Linked DNA regions of Homo sapiens: regions 1, 2 and 3 are each linked to region 4. Evidence: promoter capture Hi-C in 16 types of primary human blood cells and fetal thymus (Javierre and others, 2016). All regions are on one chromosome and are shown on one strand. Each heading gives the region's core, a stretch centred on a gene start or on the middle of the fragment in contact. The rest is flanking DNA. Distances are from core to core; before and after follow the strand shown. Region 1 overlaps BMPR1B (bone morphogenetic protein receptor type 1B). Region 2 holds the start of SMARCAD1 (SNF2 related chromatin remodeling ATPase with DExD box 1). Region 3 holds the start of CENPE (centromere protein E). Region 4 holds the start of RAP1GDS1 (Rap1 GTPase-GDP dissociation stimulator 1).

Region 1 (3,402 bases), core at 569-3,068, 3.1 Mb after region 4:
GTGCCAAGCAAAGAACCTTCAGCAGCCCCAGAGATCCCCACAGCTAAGCTCAGATCAGAACCTAGGGTAGAAATTAGAAATTACTTTGCAGAGACAAAACTTCTGAGAGTGCAGTCATCTGTACTTTGCTGCTGTGACCAGATGGAGACAACAAGCTTGCAACTTACAAAATGACCAATGCCAACAAAATAACCTTTTTTCCTCAGCTGAGATTTACTGTCAGTATGCCTGTGAGTTCTGCGAAAAGTTTAACTTGAGCCCATGACACACAGAAGTGGGGTGTACAGAAGGTGGGAGAGATGTACCAATAGCAAATCTCAGCTGGTTTTAAATGTTGCTAATTGTAGATCCTGCTAAACTAATGGCAGGAAGAAAAAGCAGCATTGGCCAGGCACAGTGGCTCACGCCTGTAATCCCAGGACTTTGGAAGGCTAAGATGGGGAGATCACTTGAGCCCTGGAGTTTGGGACCAGCCTAGGAAACATAGTGAGGACTTGTCCCTACTAAACATAAAATTAGCCAGCCATGGTGGTGCATGCTTGTAGTCCCAGCTACTTGGGAGGCTGAGATGGGAGTCACTTGAGCCCAGGAGATCGAGGCTGCAGTGAGCTATGATCATGCCACTGCACTCCAGCCTGGGCAAGACAGAGTGAGACCTTGTCAAAAAAAAAAAAGAAAGAAAGAAAGAAAAAAAGAAAAAGAAGAAAGAAAGAAAGAAGGGAAGGGAAGGGAGGGAGGGAAGGAGGGAGGAAGGGAGGGAGGAAGGAGGGAGGAAGGGAGGGAGGGAAGGAAGGAAGGAGGGAGGGAAGGAAGGAAGGGAGGGAGGGAGGGAGGGAGGGAGGGAGGGAAAGAAAGAAAAGAAAAGAAAAGAAAGAAAGAAAAAAAAGAAAACAGAGGAAGGAAAGAAAGAAAAGAAAGAAAGGGGAAAGAGCAGTATTTCTGAGCACCTGTGATGTACCTGGCATGGGCCCTCACATAATTCAGACACTCATCTTATTGGTTCCTCACAAGAGCGCGAAGAGGTGGGAATTTACAGGTGGGAAGACTGGGCTCAGATTATGTACTTCCAAAGAATGAAAAAAGTGGAAAATGGTGGAATTTAAGCAGGTCAGTCTGAATTCCAGCATCAGGATGCACTCTTTTGACACAAGTGCAGCTGGCTAACCACCACCAATCTCACGCAAACTCTTCATTCTCTCTGCGTCAGACGCAAACCTTCCTGCACTCTCCACTCCCCAGACAATTTTGGGCTTCCCTGGTCCTGATCCAATCTCCAATGGATCCCCTCACAAACCAAACTTCTCATTCTGCCCTCCAGGGTCCACAATGCTTGGAACAATAGCCCTAACACATTCCCTCCCCTTTCGCAGAGGTGACAATTCAGGGGCAGCAGCAACAGCCTCCTCCTTCCACATCTCAAATACTCCACAGCTGGGAGGCAGGTGGGGTCTTTCTCATACAAAACTGCTGATTCCAGATTATTGCATTAAAAACTCAATGCTTTGCATGTCAGGCCTCCCGGCTCAGCTGGCCAGCCCCTCTCTCTGCCTCTCACTGCCTGCGTCCCTTCCCATTCTCCTGTGGCACTGGAGAATTTTGCCTCACAACCTTCCTCTCCCAAGACTGCCACCTTCAAAATCCACGAAGACAACAAATCTAAAGGCCAGGATTTGGGTTCCTCTTTCATCACCAACAATGTTGCCTATGAATTAAATTCACCCCCTCCTGCGATCACACTCTCAGCTGCTCCCCCTCTGAAATCTGACCACAGCCTCTCTCTCAGTAACTGTGGAGATACCACCTCCGCCCCCGCCCCATCAGGATTCCCTGTCCTGGGACCTGGGTTTTTGTTTTGTTTTGTTTTGTTTTTTGTTTTTTTTTTTTTGGTCTGTTAGCTCCTCTAATTAATTCCTTCCCTCCTCTGGTCCATCAGCCCCTTGATAGTAATAATTCTTACCTTCCATGACCTGTTGCTGCGTTTGCATGATAAACCAGTACCCTGAATGAATCCTATCTTCGTTGTCTCTATACCTGTATTTGGGTTGCTGACAAAAAGATAAAAAAAATCATAAACCACAAGAAAAGTGGCACTATGAATTTCTGTTAATACTATAGTTGAGCACTTACCACATGCTTGGTGCATGGATTATGTCATTTCATCTTCAGAACAACTCCAGATAGTGGATATTAACATCATTCTCATCTTCAAGGGGAAGAAACATCTTCAAGGGGAAGAAACTGACCACAGCCCCTCTCTCAGTAACTGCGGAGATACCACCTCCGCCCCATCAGGATTCCCTGTCCTGGGACCTGGGTTTTTTGTTCGTTTGTTTGTTTGTTTGTTGGTCTGTTAGCTCCTCTAATTAATTCCTTCCCTCCTCTGGCCCATCAGCCCCTTGATAGTAATAATTCTTACTTTCCATGACCTGTTGCTGCATTTGCATGATAAAGAGGTCAAAATGTGCCCAGTCACACAACTGAGGGAGTGAGGGAAGCTGGATTCACACCAACAGGCCACCTGGCAGTCCCAAGTCTACGCTTGGCCACTGTGCCACAGTCAGCTTCAGGAAGCCTAACCTGGCCCTCAGAGTTGCCCGTAACCATCTGGCTCTTTCCCCATCAAGCTGTAATTTTCCAGTGCAATTTTAAACCTTCTTCACTTCTCTTAAACCACTGACTTCCCTGCCTTTCCCCTCACTCTCAGTAGATGACTGTGTTTCCTTCACAAAGAAAGTAGAAGCCATCAGACCATTTCTCTTGTCCTCCTGCCATGAAATGTGAAAAACTTACCTGCATCTGCCTCCTTCATGGTGCCTTCCCACCTGCTACAATGGGATATTTTCAAAGATAATAAATAAATAAATAAATAAATAAATAAATAAGCACAACTATAACATAACAGTCATGTTTTTTTCCAAGGGGAGAATGAAGCCATTTTATTTAGGGGAATGTTAAAACAAAGCCATATACAATCTGTAACAAATACAATACAATTGTTTGTTCCCTAGTCCTGAATAATTACAGTATATACAAAATCTGTAAGGCACTGGTTCCCCCAAAAGAACAAATGAGTCTTCTTGTGAAACAGACAACGAAACCCCTATATTGCCAACTTTTCTCCAAAAAATATGGCATTGTTTTTTTGTTTTGTTTTACAAGAGGAATCACAATTGCTAAATTAAGTCACTTCTGATGCCATTTCTTTCATTTCCACTGCTATGTGTCTGGGTTTTCTAAGGCAATGTAACTACTGAACATGTTCAAGTTTAAAAAACTATACTTCTCTCAGTGCCGTTCCACCCACAAACAAAGAAGAATCAGATCAGACCAACAACATAAAACTTCTAATGAATATGTATGACTGTAGGAACATGAAATTCAGTCATTATTAAGTACTTGCTA
Region 2 (3,175 bases), core at 62-2,561, 4.1 Mb after region 4:
TTAATTTTTGGCTTATCCTCAAATACTTTTGTCTCTGACAATCTGCTGATGAGGTTAAAAATGTTCATTCACCATGAAGAATACCAATTACTCATTTGCATTCTGAGGACATCCAGGAAGTCAGGTGGATGCAAGAACTTGATGTGATCTGATCTTCCCTTGTGTACAGAGGTTGTCTTTAGGCACCTTGCTCAATGTCTAGCTCACAGTAGATGATCAATATTTTGAGGGAATACTGGAATGAATGAAAATGTCTGCCCAAATAGCCTCAAAGTTTATCATAGGACTGAATCACTGACATCGCTCTTCCAATAGCAACCGTTCTGACCTATGGATGCCCTAAATTCTAATTTCAACTTCCACCATGGGGCCATATTCGAAGAACTCATATAAAAGTGAGGCGACAATGGATGGATGCTCAGTTGAGGGTACATGGTGCTTATGGCAGTCCCAAAGCTGTATTTAAAAGGGCACACCGCAGGACAATGCATCAATATATATGACATCAAGAATAAAAATGAGAATCCCTTCTGCCTTTCATCTTTTAAAAACTGTCCTTGATGTTACATCAATTTTAACATTGTAACTCACCTGTTTTTTCAGTTATATCTGAATCAGGAGTGTTTGCCCTGCTAACTTCCCCTTCAGCATTCTCCTCTTCAGCACTAAGAGAAATTGGTGAAGAAGGGCCAGGCTGGGAAGGTTGAGGGGTTGCTTCGGGCGCTTCCTCAATCTTATTCCTTTTCTCAAAGCGAAAACGGTCCAGGTTGAAAAGATTCATATTGGTAGAAAGCACCACCTTGCAGGGATGGGGGCTTTAAATGAACTATCTGCAGGGGAAAAATAAAGAGAGGAAAAAAGGCCATGAAAACAATATACGATACAATGCCACAGCAGTTTATTCCCAAGGCAATAAAGGGCCCGCAAACATGCCAGTGGCTCAGGACTGTTATGGCTGCGCTTCATTGTTAGGCCGCAACAATTAGAAGGTGGACGGGGGTATCTTTTAAAATTTTCCATTGCTTTTCACTCCCCTTCGTCCGCCTCCCCCGCCCGCCCCTCCTTACTGAAACCACGAGCTGACCCTCATGCAACCTCCTCTTACCCAAGCACGCGCAGGCACGTTCCCCAGTATAACCCCCTAGCGGGCCTCGCGCCCGCCCACAAAGAGAAGCTCCCTGTGCTACCGTGCCCCCTGCCTCGAGAAAGGACCTGCCAGGGCCCGCGCCTCGACACTGCGGGGACACAAAGGGGCCAAAGAAGGGGAGCGGCGGAGGCCGTGCTGGCGGGCATCCGCCCGGAAGTTGACGCGGCGCGATCCCAGCTGAGAGGAAGCTGATAGGATTAAGAACACACAGGAAGGTTCAGAGGTGGAGTGCATGCTAAGGCATCTTTTTAACGTTCAATCGCTCGCTTGTTCTTTCTTCCCTCAGTACTTACGATCTTGTAGCCTCAGTGCTATGTAACAAAGGTTGAAAATAAAAAAAAAATTTCCTAGCGTGGGGCGACGGTAGCCGTGCCGGGACCTTCCAAAACACCACGGAGAAACCTTAAGAGCGCGTAATGATGACGCAACACGCAGCCTAGGCTTTTTCTTCCCAAACAACGCGCGAGCCGACAATGTCGAGGCGCGCGCTGTTGTCATGGTAATTCGTACCCGTCTCCGCCGGCTTGTAAGGGCCAGATTGTTCTGTACCTTTGTCCTGTTAAATTATCTAGAGAGTTATTAAATAGAACAATAGTAAATAGCATAATGACAAAAAATAACAATATATAATACAATTAGTATATATTGTATGTATTATAATCTGTAGTGTTTCACCTATAATATAATGTAGATAGCATAATAGTAATAATACTGTGCTAAGCTTTTTCAGTGTATAATCCCAATCCTTACAAGAAGCCTATGTTTACAAAGCAAAGAAACTGAGACCTGCAAATGTATAGGTAATTAGTGACGGATAAGAACCCCGGGATGCTGAGCTTCAAAGCATTTAAAGTAATTCCTCACTTTCGGCTTGATTGTTCTTAGAATGGAATTTGATTAATTAATTAATTTTTTAAAAATATTTTAATTTTTAATGTTTGCGGGTACATAGTAGGTGTACATATTTATAGGGTACATGAGATATTTTGATACAGGCATGCAATGTGTAATAATCATATCAGGGTAAGTGGGGTATCCATAACAAGCATTTATCCTTTGTGTTTCAAACAATCCAGTTATTTTAGTCATTTAAAAATGTACAATAAGCTGGGAGTGGTGGCTCACGCCTGTAATCCCAGCACTTTGGGGGGCTGAGGCAGGTGAATCACAAGGTCAGGAGTTTGAGACCAGCCTAGCCAACATGGTGAAACTCCGTCTCTGCTAAATATACAAAAAATTAGCCGGGCGTAGTGGCGGGCGCCTGTAATCTCAGCTAATCGGGAGGCTGAGGCAGGAGAATAGCTTGAACCTGGGATGCGGAGGTTGCAGTTAGCCGAGATCACTCCACTGCACTCCACCCTGGGCAACAAAGCAAGACTCTTGTCTCAAAAAAAAAAGTACAATAAATTGTTGTTGACTGTAGTCATGCTATTGTGCTATCAAATACTAGATCTTATTCATTCAAACTGTATTTTCGTACCCATTAACCATGCTCACCGACCACCGGGGTCCTCCCCCGCCCCACACTACCCTTCCCAGCCTCTGGTAGCCATCGTTCTACCGTTTCTCATACGTTCAATTGTTTTAATTTTTTAGCTCCCACAAATATAATAAATGAGAACATACCAAGTTTTTTTTCTGTGCCTGCCTTATTTCCTTTAATATAATGACCTCCAGTTCCATCCATGTTGCAAATGACAGGATCTCATTTTTTTTAATGGCGAAATAATACTCCACTGTGTATATGCACCACATTTTTCTTATTCATTCACCTGTTAATGGACACTTAAGTTGCTTCCAAATCTTGGCTGTTGTGAATAGTGCTGCAACAAACATGAGAATGCAGATATCATTTCGATACACTGATTTCCTTTCTTTTGCATATAATTCACCTATCTTGATGGAAATGTTAGCTTAAGAATATATACTCCTGGCCGGGCGCAGTGGCTCACGCCTGTAATCCCAGCACTTTGGGAGGTGGAGGCGGGCGGATCATGAGGTCAGGAGATCGAGACCATCCTGGCCAAC
Region 3 (3,205 bases), core at 246-2,745, 4.9 Mb before region 4:
CTCTCCTCCGACTCTCTGCTGGGCCCTTTAAATCCCCTCTCCTGTTTAGCAGTGGTCACGCCGCCCGCCTTGCGTCCCCCGCGCTGCTCCGCACGTGGAATGGCCCATGACGTCACGAGGCCACGGCTCAATCAGATGCGGCGTTTGGGAAATTTTAAATTTAAAGGCGGGGCGGCCTGTGAGCCCTGAAGTGCCGGCCGCGGAGGGTCCTGGCCATTTTCCTGGGACCAGTTCAGCCTGATAGGATGGCGGAGGAAGGAGCCGTGGCCGTCTGCGTGCGAGTGCGGCCGCTGAACAGCAGGTAGGGGGGCCACACCACGGCCCGGTGCCCGCTGGGCCTGCGGCGCCGCCCTGAGCCGGAGGGGCGAGGCCTACGATGTTTCCAGGAGCCGCTGCTTCCCGGCTCTGCTGTCTAGTGACTCGGCTGCTGGCCATCGTTTCAGGGTCTGTAAAGTGACAGGGGAGGATCGGAGATCTAGAAGATACTTTCCAGCTGCGAGATTCACTTAAATTTAACTCAGTCTCGCTGACATACAGACCTTCCCTTCTGTGCTGCTCTGCCTTGCGGCATCTGCTCCTCCCTGCCCCATTCCCCGCCTAGAGAAGTCGTATGGGACCGTGCCTTCCTGGCCCTCATCACAGTTAGTCATTTTACACCTAACTGCTGTCTCCAGACCCTCTGAAGACAAGGGCTAGTCTGTCTTGTCACATTACATTCAATCGTCACTCAAGATCATTCTACAAATATTTATCAATTTTTTTTTAGTGACTTTGTACAACACAGACACTCCCGTCATTGCCCAGTGGCTCTTCCATTCTAATGGGACGAGACAGAAAGTAAAGTTGAAAATGTAGGATGTTAAGTGGTGATATGTAGGTAATAAGTGCTAGGGAGAAAAAGCAGGAAGAGGAATAAATGAAATCGGTTTGCTTCACTAGCTTCTGGCCCTCGACCCGAAATGCTAACACTTTGTGTGTGTGAGAAATTTTTATTGAACACGGGGTTTAATAAATGCAAATACCAAGATCAGGAATTTCCTATTTTTGAGGAGCTCATTATCTAATGCCTTAAACGGCTACATAAAGAAACCATTAGGATACCTTTTGACAAGTGTTATGATGGGCAGGTAGAGAATGTTTGCTAGAGGAGTTATTAGCCCATCAGAGACGAAAGCTTCCCGTGGGGTGAACTGGTGTCAGAAAAGTCTTGACGCTTTTCATGAGTGAAATAATCCCTATGTTACTTAATGGAAAGGGAAGTCAGAGTATTCCAGGCACAGAGAGGTTACATCTGTCATTTGGGGAAGACCTTCAGGTAGAGCTTAGGATGTATCTAGGAATTCAGAGGAAAATGGAAGAGAGAAATGACATGATCTAGGACTCGTGCCCTGCTGAGGATTTCATAAGTTTCCAAAAGGTTTTAAGAATTTTAAGCAAGACAGACATAATCAGAGTTGCATTTTGAATCCATCCCTTTGTTTACCAGTACTGGGGGAGAGGGTGAGAATGAAAGCCTTCACAAGAAAACACTTTTGAGGCGGCAGAAGGTCACTGAAGCTCCATTTAAGAGTTGAATCCTCAAAGATGGACTTTCTGTCATTCTCTTATGTTACTATCTTTCAAAATATTCTTTAGCAGGTGAAATCTTTTCAATTATTCCTCCTATGACATGACTTTTATGACTGGTTAAAATGCGGTGTTTTTATTCTTTTAGAGAAGAATCACTTGGAGAAACTGCCCAAGTTTACTGGAAAACTGACAATAATGTCATTTATCAAGTTGATGGAAGTAAATCCTTCAATTTTGGTAAGCTTATAATAGCATCAAAAGTTACCTTGTTATCCTTTTGCTATTAAAAGTACAAAAGGCTTATCAATAATATTAGATTTGTCACTAAAGATTAGACTAAGCCTTCTATAAACTGCTTCACTGGAAACAAAATTGTTTATCCATCATGTATTTAAGTAAGGTAACCAATTGGCATTTAAAACAGTTATAATCACAGTTATCTAATTTGCATCTAGGTAGATTCCAGACCCCCATGTGCAAACACTATACCTTATTGCCTCTTGAAAGAACATAGAAAAGTTGACTTGTAGTGTATTTTTTGTGTGTGAAAATGAACTCATTTTACCTTAGGGAAGGGTATTTTCAGAGAACCAAAAAGTTGAAAAAAATACTGTGTCTTAAATAGTTGATCATCCTACATTCTGACAGTTTTACTTTTGGGAATAATTACTAATTTGGAATGAAAACACAGTGGACTCATTTGATTTAACTTCTGTGTTGTTGTTGTTGTTGTTGTTGTTTAGATCGTGTCTTTCATGGTAATGAAACTACCAAAAATGTGTATGAAGAAATAGCAGCACCAATCATCGATTCTGCCATACAAGGCTACAATGGTTTGTATTCACTCAATGCTGCAGAAACATTTTAGTCTTGGGCGTCTGTGCAACAAGCATGCATAGTTTTACCCATTATAGGTTTGTTTTTAATCTTTGCGTATGTGTGTTTTGTTTTTTGCAGGTACTATATTTGCCTATGGACAGACTGCTTCAGGAAAAACATATACCATGATGGGTTCAGAAGATCATTTGGGAGTTATACCCAGGGCAATTCATGACATTTTCCAAAAAATTAAGAAGGTAAGTAACTTAACTGGATTTCTAGTACGTACAGGTAAAACTAGTAAAAACTGGGTACCAGTCTTAGTGTATTTCTCTTGTAAAGATGAAAGGAAGTAGATTTACAGTTATTGTTTGATTATCCATGGGGAAAGAAGAAAGGCATAGCATAGATTCACTTTTATCTCCACAACTTACTTTATAAAGCTTAAAGTTCTTTTATTCTTTCTCTTGAATTCTGCAACAATAATACTCTCAACAAAAAGTAGGCATTAAGGAACAAGAAAATGTTATCAGAATGGTTAGCTCCACCTAACCATTTAACTATCAGTGATTATAAAGGAACAGTAGAAAGTGGATGTAGGTAAAAAAAGAAGGGAAGCAGAAAGCCAGAATAGGCAACCGAGTTAGTTGGTTTCAAATTAGCATTTTTATTAAAATAAGAACATCTTTTGAGAGGGTTTTATTTTGAGCCTAGAGTTTGAGCCTAGAGTTGGTGTTCTCCCAGCTTTATGGTACTTCACTTTTCATTATTTCTGTAACGATGCTTTTATATTTTTGTGTTCATTATTTTGTCAACA
Region 4 (3,597 bases), core at 152-2,651:
CTTCTTGAAGATTCTGAGTTGCACCACCTAACTCTGAACGTGTTGAGCACTGTATTAACAGATGAAAGGACCACATTCATCTCAAGCTTTAAATAACTCGCACAGAAGGGGTGGGAAAAGTCCCAGCTGACAGATGCCAAGGGAGCAAATTTTAAAAAGAGGAAATTATGACAGACAGGAGTGGAAGCAAACTGGGGAACTTAGTACAAGTCGCTACTATTAAAAGAAACTTTGAGCTCTTAATTACATGACAGCATTCATCAGACGTTTCTGTGATTACTGAATGTAACAGTTAAGCAATAGATGATGTAAAAAAATTAGGTCAAATGTATATATCGTTTTATAAAACATATTTGCTCTTAAATCTCTCATCCAAACCAATCTCTTCAGATTAACTATAAATACAAAGGAACTAAAATCAGATTATGCAGATTAGACAGGAGGAAGCTGGGAAAGAATAACTACCATGTAAGTTCGGTAACAACGTTACAGGGCGCAGTTTCCTGCTACAGAAGACGGACGAAGGAATCCAGAAAATAGGCTGGGCACGGGAATATTGCACACTGTAGTCACCCAGCACTAATTCAACAGCTAGCGGCTCTATCCTGCCTCACGTTCCTCGTGGCCTCTGACAAGTCATCCTTTCAACCTATGAGGCTGTCCGCTCTCCCCCTTGGAAAATAATTTCCGTGCAGGTTGTAAGATCTCCCTCACAAACTACTTGCTTCCACTTCCCCGCCCGGGATGAGGAGTCTCCACGACGGGGAAAGGTCGCACTGACAGAGAAGGAAGTTACACGAAGTGGTAGTGGTCGGACCCGAGCCTCGAGCTCAGTACACGCGGGGGAAAAGGAAGCGGGCGGCCTCTGGAGAAACGGGGATGGAGCTGCAGATGCGAGCCCGCGAGGCAGGCTCCGTGGTGCCCGGGCACCGGCAGGAAGAATGGAGGAGGGGAGGCGAGGCTGCGAGGTGCCGGGGAGCCGGGCGGCGGTCCGGCCCGCGGCCGACCCCACCCCAGCCCGCGCTCGGGACCCTCCCAGCCCCGGCACCCGGCGTGCGTTCCGCGTGCGCCGACTCTCCCCGGAGGAACAGCCACCGTCTCACACCCGGGGACTGGAGAAATCCGGCAACTTTGCGCGAGAAATGCTTCCCACCCTGCAGCACGCCGAGAAAGAAAAAAATGTCAGGCGATGACGGCGGAGGAAGGATGACTTACCCATGTTGCTCCCCGAGGGTGAGGAACCGGCGGGGCGAGGCGAAGGTCTGTGGTGCGGGCGGCGCGGCTCTGTGTCCTCCCTCTACCTCCGTCTCTCCCGCAGCCAGGGAGGGACCCGCGGGGGGCGGCCGCCGGGGAGGAGCAGCTGGTGCTGCTGCAGGCGGCGCGGCCGCGGCGGGGACGAGCGGCGGGGGGCGGGGCGGGGCGGGGCGGGGCGGGACTGGCGGGCGCAGCCTGCGGCGGGCGCGGCTCCGAGCGGGCGGGCGGCGGAGGCGCGGGAGCCGGCCTGAAGAGCTCCGGCCCCGACTCGCAGCCCACGAGCGCCCCGCCCTCCCCACCGAGCATGCTCAGTGCCTTTTCCACCCCTCCCTCTGTGGCGAGCGAGGCTAAGCGTGCGGGTGGGCGTGTGTTTGCAGACCGGCTGCAGCCGCGGCAGAGGATCTTCATGGCGGCCGCCTGAGAGGCGGAGGGCGGGCCCGGAGAAAACAGGGAATGGGGATATTGAGCCCGATCTGCTAGCAGAGGACTCACCGCTGCCTTGCTTTCCCACCCTGACCCACCAACCCCTCACCCGGAACCCGGGCTTGCCTTCTTTACGGGACGACCGGGCCGCACAGGCCGGAATTAACCGGAGAAGAGGCTGGGCCGCCGCAGAGCCGGGAGGGGTGGTGGGAAGCCAGAGCTGACGAAGTTGGAAAGGACGTGTAGGCGACTAGGCCTGCGCCTCTTGGGGACACCTGAGGACGCCCGCTGGGCAGCTGGCTGAGGAGGGGCCGCCGGGAGGGCGCTCGATAGCAGGCGTGTCATTGGGACACTTAAGGCTGCTCTAGCTGTGGCCAGCTTAGAAACAAAGGTCCCGGCAGCGAGGAGAGCGCCCGCCCCAGGATTTCCTCGAAGAGTGTGTCGTTCTCCCTCCCGGAGGAGCGCGGCCTTCCGTTCCCCGGAGGGCTCTGGAAAGGCCCTTTAACCGGGGTGCCGTCGGGCTCCATCCTGCTGTGAAAGCGGGAGGAACTACGTTCCCCAGGCTTGAAAATAAGCGTCCTGCTGGGTTGGCTGCGGCACTGCCAAAGCTAACCCGGCGGAGGTCCTTTGATCCCGGGGCCACCGCCCGCTCCCACCACCACCTCGGCCTCGGGGAGAACCTGAGCAGGGCTCTCCCACTGAGGGCGTCCTCCCGACTGGGCATGCACGTGAGGCCGGGGCTGGCTTCGGTCCTCTTCCCTGGGGTAGGAGGCTGGAGGAAACCGATTTCTCTGCACCCTAATCTTGCCCTGGCTCCTCCTGAGTGGGGTGAGGAATCTGGTCGCTCTCCAAGGCTACAGCGACCGGAGTCCTTCAGGGGACACTGTGCAGTCAGCAGTACAACCTGTTGGAGAAAGATGGCTGAATCGAGGTGTCTTTCCCCTGTCAACTTTCACTCGGTCAATCCAATGTTGAGAAAGGGCTTTTTTTGTTTGTTTGTTAATTAGTCGCCTATTCTCACAGTCATCAGTTTCTGCTTGGTGACTAGTATTTCGAGCACACAAATCAGAAGCGACCCTGTAATTTGTTAAGCAAAGAGCAGATTTTATGTGATTTTTCTACAGCAAGAAACGATAATTAAAAAGGTTTGGTAAAACAGGAAAATACAATTTAACTGCTGAAGTCAAATATATGGGACTTTTCTGATGCATGAGACTATCAGGCACCTCACTCTTAGGATGTTCTTCTTGTTTGCCTCTTAAAATAATCGCACTACATTAGTTCCCTAGGGCTGCCGTAACATACCACAAATTGGGTGACTTAAAACAACAAATTATTATCTCACAATTCTGGAGGCCAGAAGTTTGAAATCAAGGTGTAGGCAGGGCTGTACTCCCTCTGAGGGCACTGGGGAGGGATCTCGTCCATGCCTCTCCTAGCTTCTGGTAGTTTCTTGGCATATGGTAGCGTAACTCCAATCTGAACATGGCTGTTCTCCCAGTGTGCTTGTGTGTTCAAATTTCCCTTTTTAATAAGAACAGCAGTCATAACGGATTAGGGGCGAACCATCCTCCAGTATGACCTCATGGACGTTAATTATATCTGCAATGACCCTATTTCCAAATCAGGTCACATTCTAAGGGACTAAGGGTTAGGACTTCTACATATGAATAGGGCCAGCCTGGCCAACATGACGAAACCCCATCTCTAACTAAAAATACAAAAAATTAGCCAGGGCCAGGCACAGTGGCTCACGCCTGTAATCCTAACACTTTGGGAGGCTCAGGAGGGCAGATCACTTAAGTCAGGAGCTGGAGATCAGCCTGGCCAACATGGCAAAACCCTATTTCTACTAAAAAATAAATAAAATAAATAAATTAGCTGGGCATGGTGGCACGTGTCTGTAATCCCAGCTACTTG

The links. Contacts are between HindIII fragments. The CHiCAGO score rates a contact against its expected background, and 5 or more counts as called.
Region 1: a contact is called between a fragment that was not itself captured here and the fragment with the promoter of RAP1GDS1 in region 4, in 4 of 17 cell types (total CD4 T cells, fetal thymus, naive CD4 T cells and 1 more). The highest score is 11.1, in total CD4 T cells.
Region 2: a contact is called between the fragment with the promoter of SMARCAD1 here and the fragment with the promoter of RAP1GDS1 in region 4, in 9 of 17 cell types (naive CD8 T cells, fetal thymus, non-activated CD4 T cells and 6 more). The highest score is 23.5, in naive CD8 T cells.
Region 3: a contact is called between a fragment that was not itself captured here and the fragment with the promoter of RAP1GDS1 in region 4, in 1 of 17 cell types (total B cells). The highest score is 5.6, in total B cells.

What each region holds. Positions count from the first base shown.
Region 1 is chr4:95,157,954-95,161,355 of GRCh38, reverse strand. It overlaps BMPR1B (bone morphogenetic protein receptor type 1B), which reads right to left. Exons shown (of 13, transcript NM_001203.3): 13 at 2,908-3,402. Among named protein-coding and RNA genes, the nearest start is that of UNC5C, 390 kb to the left of the region's middle. The HindIII fragment of the contact is 3,321 bases long and covers 158-3,402 here.
Region 2 is chr4:94,206,001-94,209,175 of GRCh38, reverse strand. SMARCAD1 (SNF2 related chromatin remodeling ATPase with DExD box 1) reads right to left here and starts at 1,311. Exons shown (of 24, transcript NM_020159.5): 1 at 1,106-1,311; 2 at 592-830. The coding sequence starts at 781. SMARCAD1-DT (SMARCAD1 divergent transcript) reads left to right here and starts at 1,620. Exons shown (of 9, transcript NR_125922.1): 1 at 1,620-1,646. RefSeq lists enhancers at 731-1,234, 1,333-1,692. The HindIII fragment of the contact is 2,630 bases long and covers 1-1,870 here.
Region 3 is chr4:103,195,360-103,198,564 of GRCh38, reverse strand. It overlaps CENPE (centromere protein E), which reads left to right and starts at 222. Exons shown (of 49, transcript NM_001813.3): 1 at 222-301; 2 at 1,715-1,806; 3 at 2,313-2,402; 4 at 2,527-2,645. The coding sequence starts at 246. RefSeq lists an enhancer at 1-360. The HindIII fragment of the contact is 637 bases long and covers 1,177-1,813 here.
Region 4 is chr4:98,259,188-98,262,784 of GRCh38, reverse strand. It overlaps RAP1GDS1 (Rap1 GTPase-GDP dissociation stimulator 1), which reads right to left and starts at 1,401. Exons shown (of 15, transcript NM_001100427.2): 1 at 1,216-1,401. The coding sequence starts at 1,219. RefSeq lists silencers at 1,111-1,180, 1,281-1,580 and enhancers at 1,547-2,109, 1,861-2,160. The HindIII fragment of the contact is 4,992 bases long and covers 89-3,597 here.